Linked DNA regions of Homo sapiens: region 1 is linked to region 2. The links are contacts of gene promoters, found by promoter capture Hi-C in blood cells and fetal thymus (Javierre and others, 2016). All regions are on one chromosome and are shown on one strand. Each heading gives the region's core, a stretch centred on a gene start or on the middle of the fragment in contact. The rest is flanking DNA. Distances are from core to core; before and after follow the strand shown. Region 1 has its middle 24 kb from the start of PRP4K. Region 2 holds the start of SLC22A23 (solute carrier family 22 member 23).

What was found. Contacts are between HindIII fragments. The CHiCAGO score rates a contact against its expected background, and 5 or more counts as called.
Region 1: a contact is called between a fragment that was not itself captured here and the fragment with the promoter of SLC22A23 in region 2, in 1 of 17 cell types (endothelial precursors). The highest score is 5.4, in endothelial precursors.

Annotation. Positions count from the first base shown.
Region 1 is chr6:3,993,883-4,000,018 of GRCh38, forward strand. No RefSeq gene overlaps it. Among named protein-coding and RNA genes, the nearest start is that of PRP4K, 24 kb to the right of the region's middle. The HindIII fragment of the contact is 643 bases long and covers 2,508-3,150 here.
Region 2 is chr6:3,454,217-3,459,955 of GRCh38, forward strand. It overlaps SLC22A23 (solute carrier family 22 member 23), which reads right to left and starts at 2,834. Exons shown (of 10, transcript NM_015482.2): 1 at 1,690-2,834. The coding sequence starts at 2,343. It overlaps LOC643327 (a long non-coding RNA gene), which reads left to right and starts at 1,487. Exons shown (of 2, transcript NR_147844.1): 1 at 1,487-2,035. RefSeq lists silencers at 2,602-2,831, 2,892-3,111. The HindIII fragment of the contact is 25,330 bases long and covers 1-5,739 here.

The sequences.
Region 1 (6,136 bases), core at 1,579-4,078, 540 kb after region 2:
ATTTTTGAGTTTGGTTTTCAGTTACTTCAGCCTTAGGGTTTTCTGGTATTCTTGGTTTTATTTTTAGAAATAAAAAAAAACAACATAGACTTGAAGGACTTCAATAGCACATAAGAAAAATAAGTTGAATCAAAAGGATGAGAAAGGATTGAAAAAGACTAGAACAATCTTTATCAGAGAATTATTAACCATGTTAAGGGCCAGGCGCGGTGGCTCACGCCTGTGATCCTAGCACTTTGGGAGGCTGAGACAGGCGGGTCACCTGAGGTCAGGAGTTCAAGACCAGACTGGCCAACATGGTGAAACCTCATCTCTACTAAAAATACAAAAATTAGCCAGGTGTAGTGGCAGGCGCCTGTAATCCCAGCTACTTGGGAGGCTGAGGCAGGAGAACCACTTGAGCCCAGGAGGCAGAGGTTGCAGTGAGCCAAGACTGTACCACTGCACTCCAGCCTGGGCAATAAGAGCAAAATTCCATGTCAAAAAAAAAAAAAAAGAGAGAGAGACAGAATTATTAACCATTTTAACAGAAAATCAGAATCTGTAGACATGATATTAGAAATAGTAAGAGGGTTTAACAAGGTGGACAGGTATAAGGTCGTTATACAAAAGTCAACTGCACTTCTTTATACCAGAAGGGAGTCCAGATATAGACTCAAATATACAGGGCATATAAGTGTATGATAAAGGTGTCATCTCAAATTATGGGAAAAAGATTATTCAGTAAAGGTGTTGGGACCTTTGGGGAAAAAAATATACATCTGAATCATACATAAATTGCTGTCAGATATACCAAAGACTTAAAAAGAAATGAAATATAAAAGTATTATAAGAAAGAAAATTGTATCACATGGGGCTAGGGAAGGGCTTTATAATCATGGCGGAAAACCTAGACACCATATGGAATGATTAACAATTTAAAACTTCATTATAACATAACAAACAAAATCAAAGCAAAAACCCTCCACAAAGTTAAGAGATAAAAGACAATCCAAGAGGTGGGGGATTATCATAGTTTGTGATGTGCCTTTTATTGTGATTGAGCTCTGTTTGAATGCCACTTCTAAAACTGTGGAGCGGGCACAGTGGCTCGTGGCTGTAATCCCAGCACTTTGGGAGGCTGAGGCGGGCAGATCACTTGAGCTCAGGAATTCAAGACCAGGCCTGGGCAACATGGTGAAACCCTGCCTCTACAAAAAATTAGCTGGGTATGGTGGCAGGCACCTACAGTCCCATCCACTCAGGAGGCTGAGGCACTAGAATTGCTTGAACCTAGGAGGCGGAGTTTGCACTGAGCTGGGATCGTGCCACTGCACTCCAGCCTGGGTGATAGAGACATACCCTGTCTCAAAATAAAAATAAAAATAAACTAACTGTAAATTTGGGCAAATTCCTTAACCTCTCTGAACCCATTTTCCTTGTGTGAACATGAAAATAACACATTCCCCAAAATTAATGTGAGGATTAAATGGAATAATGTATGTAAAGTATTTAGCACAGAGCCTAGCATGCAGTAAGCATTCAATAAATGTAGGGGAGAAGACGTGCAATATTTGACAAAAACATTTATTATCAATTTATTTAAAATGCATGCTTTAAAAAGAGTAAAATATGTGAACAGTCAGCTTGAATAAGTAGAAATAATGGTGATTAATAATCACATTAAAAAGTGTGTAACTGGCTAGGCATGGTGGCTCACGCCTGCAATCCCAGCACTTTGGGAGGCTGAGTGGGGGGATCACCTGAGGTCAGGAATTCCAAACCAGCTGGTCCAACACGGTGAAACCCCATCTCTACTGAAAATACAAAACTCAGCCAGGCGTGGTGGCAGGCGCCTGTAATCCCAGCTACTCGGGAGGCTGAGGCACGAGAATCACCTGAACCTGAGAGGTAGAGGTTGCAGTGAGCTGAGATTGTGCCACTGCACTCCAGCCTGGATGACAGAGTAAGACTCTGTCTCAAAAAACAAACAAACAAAAGTGCATAACTTCTCAAATAGAAATTTAAAATAAAAGAACAAGATATATGACTGTATTTCTTAGGCAGTAATTTAAAATAAAAAAAAATTGATAATGCCTGAGCTAGTAAGAATGTAGTGAATCACTCTCTTACATTTTACTAAGAGTATCCATCGGTACACGTTTTAAGGTAATTTGTTGGTACTTATTAAAATGTAAATGTTCACAATTGCTTGCCCTCACAGTTTAATTTCTAAGAATTTTTCCTACTGAAATACTGATTTAAGGAAGCAAAATACATAGTATTTGCAAGGATGGCTAAAGAAAAAAACAAAACTACAAAAAATAAAGCATATCTACAAATGCTATTATGAAGATTCAAAATATATACCAGAACAAGTTGTATGTATGTATAGTATGAGCCTTTTATTGTAAAAAACAATAGTAACTATGACATATATGTTAATGTGTTCATAGAAAAATAATCTATGTCTAGAGGTTAAGATTACGGTTGTTTCACTTTTAGTATATTTTTATGTTTAAGCTAGAAGCTTCTATAAATGAATAGTAATTATATATTAGTAGTAATTTACAATTGAAACACTTTAGAGGGATACCAAAGTATGAGAGGTGGTTTTCTCAGGAAGAAGAGAAATGGCGTCTGATGTTCCAGCAGAATGGAGACAGACACCAGGCTGTCAAAATCATCACTTGACAAGCTGTCTGCACAGCAATAGTTAACACGCAAATTAAACTTTTCATATACTGGATTCATAGAGAAATGTGGTGTAAATTTACCGTTACTTTAACTTAAGAAAAAAGCTGCACTACTTTTTCATAATTTAGGCCTTCCTTAACCCTGAGAAGGAGGTCCCTCTCTTACTCCCTCTTCTTACTTGAAATGGACTCATGAGTGTAAATTCAAGCATGTCTGTGCAAATGCTCTGCAATGTTCAGAGAAGAAAACTGCTAGATCATGGGCATCTTTAACCTAGGTTTGTGTGGAGCAGCAATGAGCATGCAAGCTGTTCCAAGGAAAAGTTAATTTTACTGCTTCATGTCAGTAAAAGTTCATATGTTTTATTTTACTATTCCAACATGAAACTTTATATTTAAAAACCTGAAAACTATTTTTAAGTACAGCAGTCTTTCTGCATATAGTATTACTCACATGTGTGCAAATTCTGCTCAAAGCTTCGATTTAGTTGTTCCCAAAACAGTCTCTCCCTTCATATACTGTACCTCTAAATTAATCCTACATTGAGTTTAGACTATTAACATAACGTAGGCCAATCCCTGTTTAACTTGCCAATCCAAGTCTTTCATTCCTAATCTTAAAAGTGCTTCATTTTTAAAAAGCACTGAAGGAAGTAAATGCATGGAAATGGAACTTGCCTAGCAGTTTCATGTGTAGGCAGATACAAAAGACATCTGTGTAGTAGTAATCCAGGAATCAGATTACTCTACTGGCTCGTTTTTTCAAGGATGGTAGAAGGAATGGGCGTAACCATGGAAATGTTCCTTCCCAAAACACAAATCTTAAACAAAACCCAAAAGCCTAGAAACATCAAAAAACCCAGGAACTCTAGCTTCCAACAGAGAACTCAACATCACCATGACACAGAGTAGCTAAAAAGAGATCCTTCCAAAAAAGAAAGTGCTACAAAAACACAGCCTTTCGAAATTTTATCCCAGGCAAGATGCCTTTTATTCTGTAAAATAAAACACTTGTCAGCAATAACAGAAATGAAATGTGTGTCTAAAATCTTCTTTAGAAGGACTATTATTCAGTAGCTCAATTCAGTCACTTTAGATAATTGTGGTGTGGCATTTAAATCCTAAATTAAAGCTCTTCCTCTACTAGTTGACATGGAAGTAATTCTGTGGGGGCTCTTGGTCTAAACTTAGCTGGAAACAACTAAAATTTGGATAAATTCATATAAAAACAACAGTCTCCTTTGCCAAAGAAGCTGGAATATGGACTGACAATATTGAAATAAATTAAACAAATGTTTATCATATACTATCATGTGCTAAGCACTTTCAACTGCTAGGCAAACAGCTGCCAACAAAAATAGATGAGAACTCTGTAATTTTATAGAACTTGTGAAAATAAGTAATTCAAAATCAAAGCTATTGGAACGTTATTTTGAGCCTTAAAGGAATGTGATTATACGACCTGAGTCACTAACAGGCAGCTGTAACCTTTATTTCCCTAATTACGGATTAGCCTTGAATAAACTCAGGTGAGCCACTGTACCTGGCTTTGAGAATTTCAATAAAAGAAAAGGAGGTGTGCCTGAAACTTCAAGACTAAAAGAGATAAATTAAGGAGGGCCAATCATGGAGAGGTTTATAGGCCACAGTAAGGAGCTGGATTTTTTTTTATGAGTAATGAGAAAACATTAATGGATTTTTGCTCTGACAAATTAAAGCTGGATATTCCTCATCTACTGGTTGAAATAGGGGTAATCCTGTAGGGACATGGATCCCTCTTGGTCTAAACTTAACCAGAAACAACTAAAATTTGGACAAATTCATAAAAAGACAACAATCTCTTTTTCCAAAGACTCCAGAGTATGAACTGACAACACTGAAATGTTTTGGGAGAAAAGGAATAGAAGCAGAGAGAATGGATTGGAAATGACAATAAGGAGGCTTTCAAACAGCCAAGCATTCACCTTCCTAACATCACTGAAGGATCAGGCATGGGCTGGCCTCAGTACTTAATCGTTATTTTGAACTGTGGTGGCAACAGATCTCACCAGCTGAGAATTAAAGAAAAATTCTACTCCTAGGGCCAAAAGGAGACAACTTGGAAAGTTAGAAGTTAGAAGAAGTTCACAGCCATTTCATAAATGCTCAAAAAAAAAAAAAAAAAAAAACCCAAAACCAAAAAAAAAAAAAAAAGAAAAAAAAAAGAACACATTCTAAAGGTTTGGGTAAAAAATTTGCAAGAATTACTTGCTCTTTTCGCTGGGTGTGGTGGCTCACGCCTGTGATCCCAGCAATTTGGGAGGCCAAGGCAGGTGAATCACTTGAGCTCAGGAGTTCAAGACTAGCCTGGCCAACATGGCGAAAACCCATCTCTACTAAAAATACAAAAATTAGCCAGGTGTGGTGTTGCGCGACTGTAATCCCAGCACTTTGGGGGACCCAAGTGGGTGGATCACTTGTGCTCAGGAGTTCAAGACCAGCCTGGCCAACATGGCGAAACCCCATCTCTACTAAAAATACAAAAATCAGCCAGGCTTGGTAGCGTGTGCCTGTAATTTCAGCTACCTGGGAGGCTGAGGCAAAGAACTGCTTGAACTCGTAAGGCGGAAGTTGCAGTTAGCCAAGATCGCACCACTGCACTCCAGCTTGGGGGACAGAGAGAGACCCTAACTCAATTAAAAAAAGAAATTTTGTTTTGTTTTAATGAACCTTACAACAAAGCTGTTTATTTAAAAAAAATAAAAGCTGGTAACTAGTATGAGGTCAAATGCAGAAAGCCAGATTATAAAAAATTACCCATATAATGTGGAATATTAAAAATGGAAATATGAAAAAAATCTGAAAAATTATATGGGTGTGTTAGAAATGGATTAGTGAAGAAAGAACATGAAGAAATATAAAAGAACAGTATGGGAGGATGGTGAAGTCTAAAATACTATTGTCTTAAAGGAAAAAGTTTTTCATATTCAAAAGAGGAATGGATTGAATGTCTCAATTTAAAGTGACATCAAGCAATTCCAAATAAATGCCATGGTTTCTGGTCTATAGAGAAGGAAAAGTCTACATTCAAGTATGCTTGGTGTATAAATTAAGATTTTCATATGTCAAACCACTGTTCTAGTAAATATATATTATTACATTAATGCAGTGATAATTCCAGACACCAATTTCCCATGAGAGCCTATGGCTTCCTGAAGACATAACATGTCAAAGAAGTCTGTCGGAAGACTTAAAAATATACACACATATATATATTTAACAGAAAAATACTTTCTAATAAGCACACGAAATATTACCAACAATGTGGTATGATACATTTAAGAATGATATCCAAAATTTTAACCATTGGTATGGGCACTGATCAATCAGAAAGCAGGCTGGCCACACTACTATAGCAGGATCCTAGAGGCCCCAGATGGGACAGGCGTTAACCCTTTAGTTGCTGGGGAGTGTGATGGGGG
Region 2 (5,739 bases), core at 1,584-4,083:
TCTCGAATGCTAATTTAGAAAAACTGCCCAGCTCTCCAATATGCCTCCATAGTCTGCTTTTAAGAACTATTTTTGTTCTCTCCTCCCACCGTGCATGGCTGAGTGTGAATAGCTGTTTCCTGGGTCCTCACTGCCAAGGTAATGGCACTCTATCCCATCTCATCACTTTCAAGTTCACCTCTACTTTGACCCCAGGACACAGCGCTCTTCACACATACTCACTTTGATCCATTATTCTCCCTCTGCTCTAGAAAGACACTTGAAATACTTAACAATGTTGCCAAATCCTCAGTCTGTCAGACATACACAGTGATTTAAATAGTCATTGTTCTTAATTTTTCTTTGCTGCTAAACCAACAAAGAAATATTGCCCTCCGTGAAGGGAAAACAGTCACAGAAACACCTTTAGAAAGCAGGGGGTAGGAGGTGGGTGGGATCAAGGTGAACCCAGCTAGAAGGACCTTCCCCATTACCTTGCAGGGCAGCAGGGGCAGCTCAGTCAGACAGTTCCCACAGGACAGAGCATTTCTGGCCAGGTTGGTACAAGATTAAAACAATGATTATGATGATGTAAGAGTTTATCTTACACATCCATGAGCTACAACTGTTAACCAATGCACACGGGGGGAGGAGGTTACATGCACATTGACTATTTAAAACTGTCCAATTTCATACATTTCGACAAAGCATTTAAAACTCTGCCAGAACAGCCCAGAATGGGTAGCGGGTGGGGTGGAGGAGAGTCTGTATTTACTTTAAAATGTGAATTAATTAGTTTAGACACAAGGAGCAAAACTACAAATGTCTTGATATCTCTTATATGTTAAGAATAAAATTACAGCTGTCTAGGGGCATTGAGTGTCCACCATTGCCCACTCTGTGTTTAGGCCTTCACACTTGTCTCACAACTCCCTTCTGCTACATTTCACACCACGCAATACCTCTGCAAGGGAGCTTTAGCTACAGGACTCAGAGGACAAGGTGCATGTTTCAGCTAAAGCACACCCCCGTTCTCAGTGCCTCAGCCCAAAGCAGCTGCTGTGTAAGAGCGGTGACGGCCGGGGAACACCCAAATGACATATTCTCCGCGTCCTTCCTATACTGTAGTGATGTTTACTGAAGTGCTGAGAAAACATGGGAGGAGACACTGGGGTAGCAAAGCCTAAAGTCAGATATCTTTGGGGAGGACTAAGCATCGGCTGCGGGTTGGGGATTTGCAGGAGTCTTTGCTTCTCTGGCTCTCCAGTTCTTTAGTAGGCTTTACCTGTGTCAAAATCAAGTGCGAGATGGAAGACTATTGCTTTGTGGGAGACCCAGGGACAACTAGCCGGGCAGAACAGGGCTGTGGTCCCGACTCCCCCAGCAGACCTTGAACGACGCCAGTCCGACTCCTCCAGAGGGGGCTGGTGACAGGTCAGCTGCCTCGCCCCGAGGGTGGGGGAAGGGCGCGCTTTCCATCCGCGTACTGGGACAGGAGTTTGGGTGCAAACTAGTAAAGGCTATGGTGCTCCCTTTACACCCAAGTAAAGGCATGTGGTTTGGGGGACGGAAGGAGATTAAGCCAATGCGGAATGCCCTACACACACTCTAGCACCACCACTTTGGGGACTTCGGTTCTCCCGCTGGCTCGGGCTTGGACCTCGGTCTGCAGGGAGAGGGTTGGAGGGACTGGGCGGCTGCGGCCCTTACCTTGCTGACCACGTTCTGGACGAGGCCGGCGCGGATGCCGTAGTCCCATGCGCGGCAGTCACAGTTGGAGGCGTTGTCCCCCTTGTCCGGAGGGGATGGCAGGGGTGGTGTGTCGCCTCCGTCCGCGCCGCTGCTGTTGCTCCGGTTGCCCGCAGCCTCCCAGGGGGCAGTGGCGAAGGGGGTGGTGGGGAGGCTGGTCCAGTTGCCCATGTCCCCGCCCCGGCCTGTGGTGGTGACCCCTGCCAGCTCGGTGCCTTTGCCGGCCCCGCGGCACCAGAAGTTGGGCTGGTCCAGGAGGAACGAGTCCGAGAACTGGCTGAAGCCGATGAACAGCGCCGGGATCCAGGTGAGCAGCACGAGGGTCTTCTGATAGCCCCCGCCCAGGCCCCCGAGGAAGGGCAGCACCGACCCGTCATAGTCCAGCAACAAGAGGCTCGGGGCCGCAGCCGCGGAGCAGCAGCTCGGGTGCGGGCCGCCTCCAGGATGCAGTGGGGGCAGCGGCTGGATCTCCGCGCCGCCGCCGGGGCCCGCGCGTCCCCCGAGGGGCGCCGAGGCCGCCGCGTCCCCGGGCGGCAGGGAGCCGTTCTCCTCGGCCGGGGCCGGCTGCCGCCCAGGCCCGCCGCCCGCCGCCTCGCGCCGCCGGTCTATGGCCATGGCCCGGGCCCGCGGCTCCCGCAGAGGCGCATAGAGCGCGGCGGAGGCTCCGCGGGCGCCCCGGGCACAGCGCGCCGGGCCAGGCGCCTGCAGCCGCTGCCGCCGAGGAGGGCCCGCGGCTCGAGAGAGAGCGCTCGGCGGCTCCGGGTGCGTCAGGCCGCCCCCATGTCACCCGCCGGACCCCGCGCCCCGGGCGCTGCGGCCCCGCTCGGGCGCCGGGCAGAGGCGGGCAGAGGCCGGCCGGGCCCTCAGCCGCCGCGGCTCATCAGTTCCGCGGCCCGGGCGCCGGCTGCCGAGCCCGCCGCTCTCCGCTGCTCCGCGCCGGACGCGGCAGGAGGAGGAGCCGGCGCCGCGCCCGGCCCGCGCCCTTGCCGGCGGTTCAGGGCCCTGCGGGCGGCGGTGCGGGCAAAGGCTGCTGCTCCCGGGGTGGCCGCGCTGTATTTCTCCGACTTCGGGCGCCTCCCGGAAGCCGCGAGCTCTGGACCCAGCCTGCCGAGCCGGCCGCGCTCTCCAGCTCCTGGAGCCGGCCCCACTCCTCCTCCTCCTCCTCCTCCTCCCCCTCCTCCCTGCCCCCCGGCCCGCCCCCTCTCCCCCCGCCGAGGTGGAGGTAACCGCGGCACCTGCTGCGCTCGGCTCCTGCTCGCGAGCGCCCCCTCCAGCCCGGACGCGCGGCCGCCGCCGCCCGGGATCCACGGGAGGGGGGCGGGGGAAACGGGACACCCCGGGCCCGCCTGGCTGGAGGATCCCCTGCCCGTTGCCCGTTTCGCGCCGGGCGGGGCGGGGGAGGAGGAGACGCGCGTAGCAGGGGTCGCCGGCCGGCGACGGGTCCCGGCAAAGTCGGCGTGCGCTGAGAACGTGTGGGCCGGGTCTTCTCTGAGGCTGGGCTCCCGCAGCCGCGCGGGCCCCCCACCCACTCCGCGCGCGCCAGGTCTCCGTGACCTCTGTCTCTTCAGAGGTGCCCGGCGGTCCCGCTGCCCGCGCCCCGCTCCCAGTCCCAAGCCCGAGGGTCTTCAGCCTTCGGGAACAACCCTCTGCGCTTTTTCCAGGAGCGAATAAGGTTGATTTTTGTGTCCGTGGAGCAGGGTCAAGGAGGCGCCTTTGCCAATTTCAGGTCGCCAGTCCCCCGCAGTGTCTGGCCACCTGCGACCCGCCGCACCCACTCCCAAATCGCCATTTCTTCCCCCACTCCTAAGTGCATGCGATGTAAGCACGATGCTGGGATATATCTCCAACACAAGTTATAATACACACAGTATAAACGTGATGGCATTCCCCACCCCCTCCCTAAGATCTTGTATTCACGTTTGGAACGCCGTGTGCACAGGCGCACACATCTATACTCTCACACAAGAAGACAAACCTCTCCCTCCTCTCCTGCTCCAGCGCCAACCTTGCCCAGCCAGCGCTGTATAAATAACACCAGCCCTGCGGCAAACGGCTACATTAGCATATTTCCTCCTGCACCCAGCGCACGCACCAAAGAGAATTATCCGGCACCTTTCAACCCAGCGTCCCCACATTTTGGAGGCATTTCATATTCTGAGAAGTTTATTAATGGAAGTCTTAAATGGAGCAATCCATTTCTAGTCTTATTTGGGGCAAAAAAAAAAAAAATGTTTAGCTTTCCAAAAGGATATATTCTAAGCTCCATATACTGAATGTATTCTTTTGCATTTTCATTATTTGCTCAGCTAACCGCTGCACAATTTAGTGGAATACATTTTTAACCTGCAGTTCAGTGTTAAGGGCAACATGTGTTTACTGCATAAAATGCTGGCACATACGTACCAGAGAACTATTTCTGAAGGCTGCCGGGGGGCGGGTCTTGGGGGACAGGGGAGGTTGTGGACCTTCCTGCGTGGCCGAGAAGGGGTGATTAGATAACAATGGGCGGAAGGGGCCCTAAGGGCTGCAAAAGACACCAGACCGCTGAGAAATGGGTCTGGAAACCACATATATAAAGAGCTGGGGGCTTGGGGCGGGGGGGGACACGATAGTGCACGTTGTGTACGTGGTAATTTTTCAACTTCACATTATTTATTAGCTTAACTTTTCTTTTCCTTCCCTCTCCTCCCCTCATTTGAAGAGCTAATACATGCAAAGTTCTGACCTCCATGCCTGGAACAGAGTAAGTGCGCAATGAATGTTAGACATGTATTATTACCAGTGCTCCTCTTGCCATTACATACAATCCACATTTCTTTTTGAATTGAAATATAACTTTACGGATTTTATTTATTTTCCTTTCAGTGGCTGATTTTCCAGAAGAGGTCCACTTTGTGTCTGGCTCTGCCTCCCTTCCCCCACAGTCACAAGGACCCATTTGTTTTCTTGTAACTGATCACAAAAGGAGCATTGCCATTGACCTTAATGGCCCTTCCAATCAGAATAACTATCATAGCCAGCGTTTCAGAGTTGGCTTTCAAATTCACACTCTCACTCAGTCCTCACATTCAGCGCCCCAAGAAGTGGGCTTTCAAAGAGAAACAGCAAGGATCAGGTGACTGACTACCAGATCAAAGAGTTGGTCCCCAGCTGAGCCAAATATCTGGTTTTGAACCCAGATTTTCTGACTGGACATTACCGGATTTCTCCATTTCATCATACAGGGGCAACTATAGGGAAGAGTTTACAAAGATGTTTGTTAATGTGCATTTTTACGTGGGAGAAGCCCTGGCCCTAGGAAAAGAGTTTCATTGTGAAGATGTTATTAGTCTTTGTTCGCAAAAGGTGGTAAAAATCCTCAAATGGTACATTCTTAGAATTTAGGGACACACTGGAAAATGGTATCCTCTAAAACTGAAGCTAAAAGGAGGCAACATAAAATGTTTGAAATTAACTAGCTGCAGCACTGACCCAGGCATTGTAATTAAGCTGTTGATTAGATTAGAGGTTTCCCTAAATTCCTCCTGGATTGATATTTCCACCAAATCTAGTCAAGAAGATTAAAGTGTAACTACTTTAAAATAAAGTGGCCTTCAATTTATTAAAACATACCACAAGTGATCTCATAACGTGAGCAAAAGGAGTAAAGAGGAAGAATTTGACACTCTGACAGCCTCAGTGGGTGAGGTTTGAGATCCATGGACCAGGATAGGAAAGCCAGACACCTGTTAAAAAATTACTGTTTTTAATTTTCTGAATGAGCATTATCATCAGCTGCTATTTTTCTTGTTTGCTTAGTTAGATTTACGTTCTGCCTCTAGAATGTAAGCACCTTCGGGGATAGGTGCCTTGTGCTCAGCTGTATGCTTGGTGGTTAAAACAGTGCCTGGTACATGCAAGGCACTCAATACATCTTTGTCAAATAAATGAGTGTATCAAGTTATTAATCACTTGATGATACTGTCTATTCAAATCATCAAACTGTTTACTTTGTTTCTTAAATCATCAAGC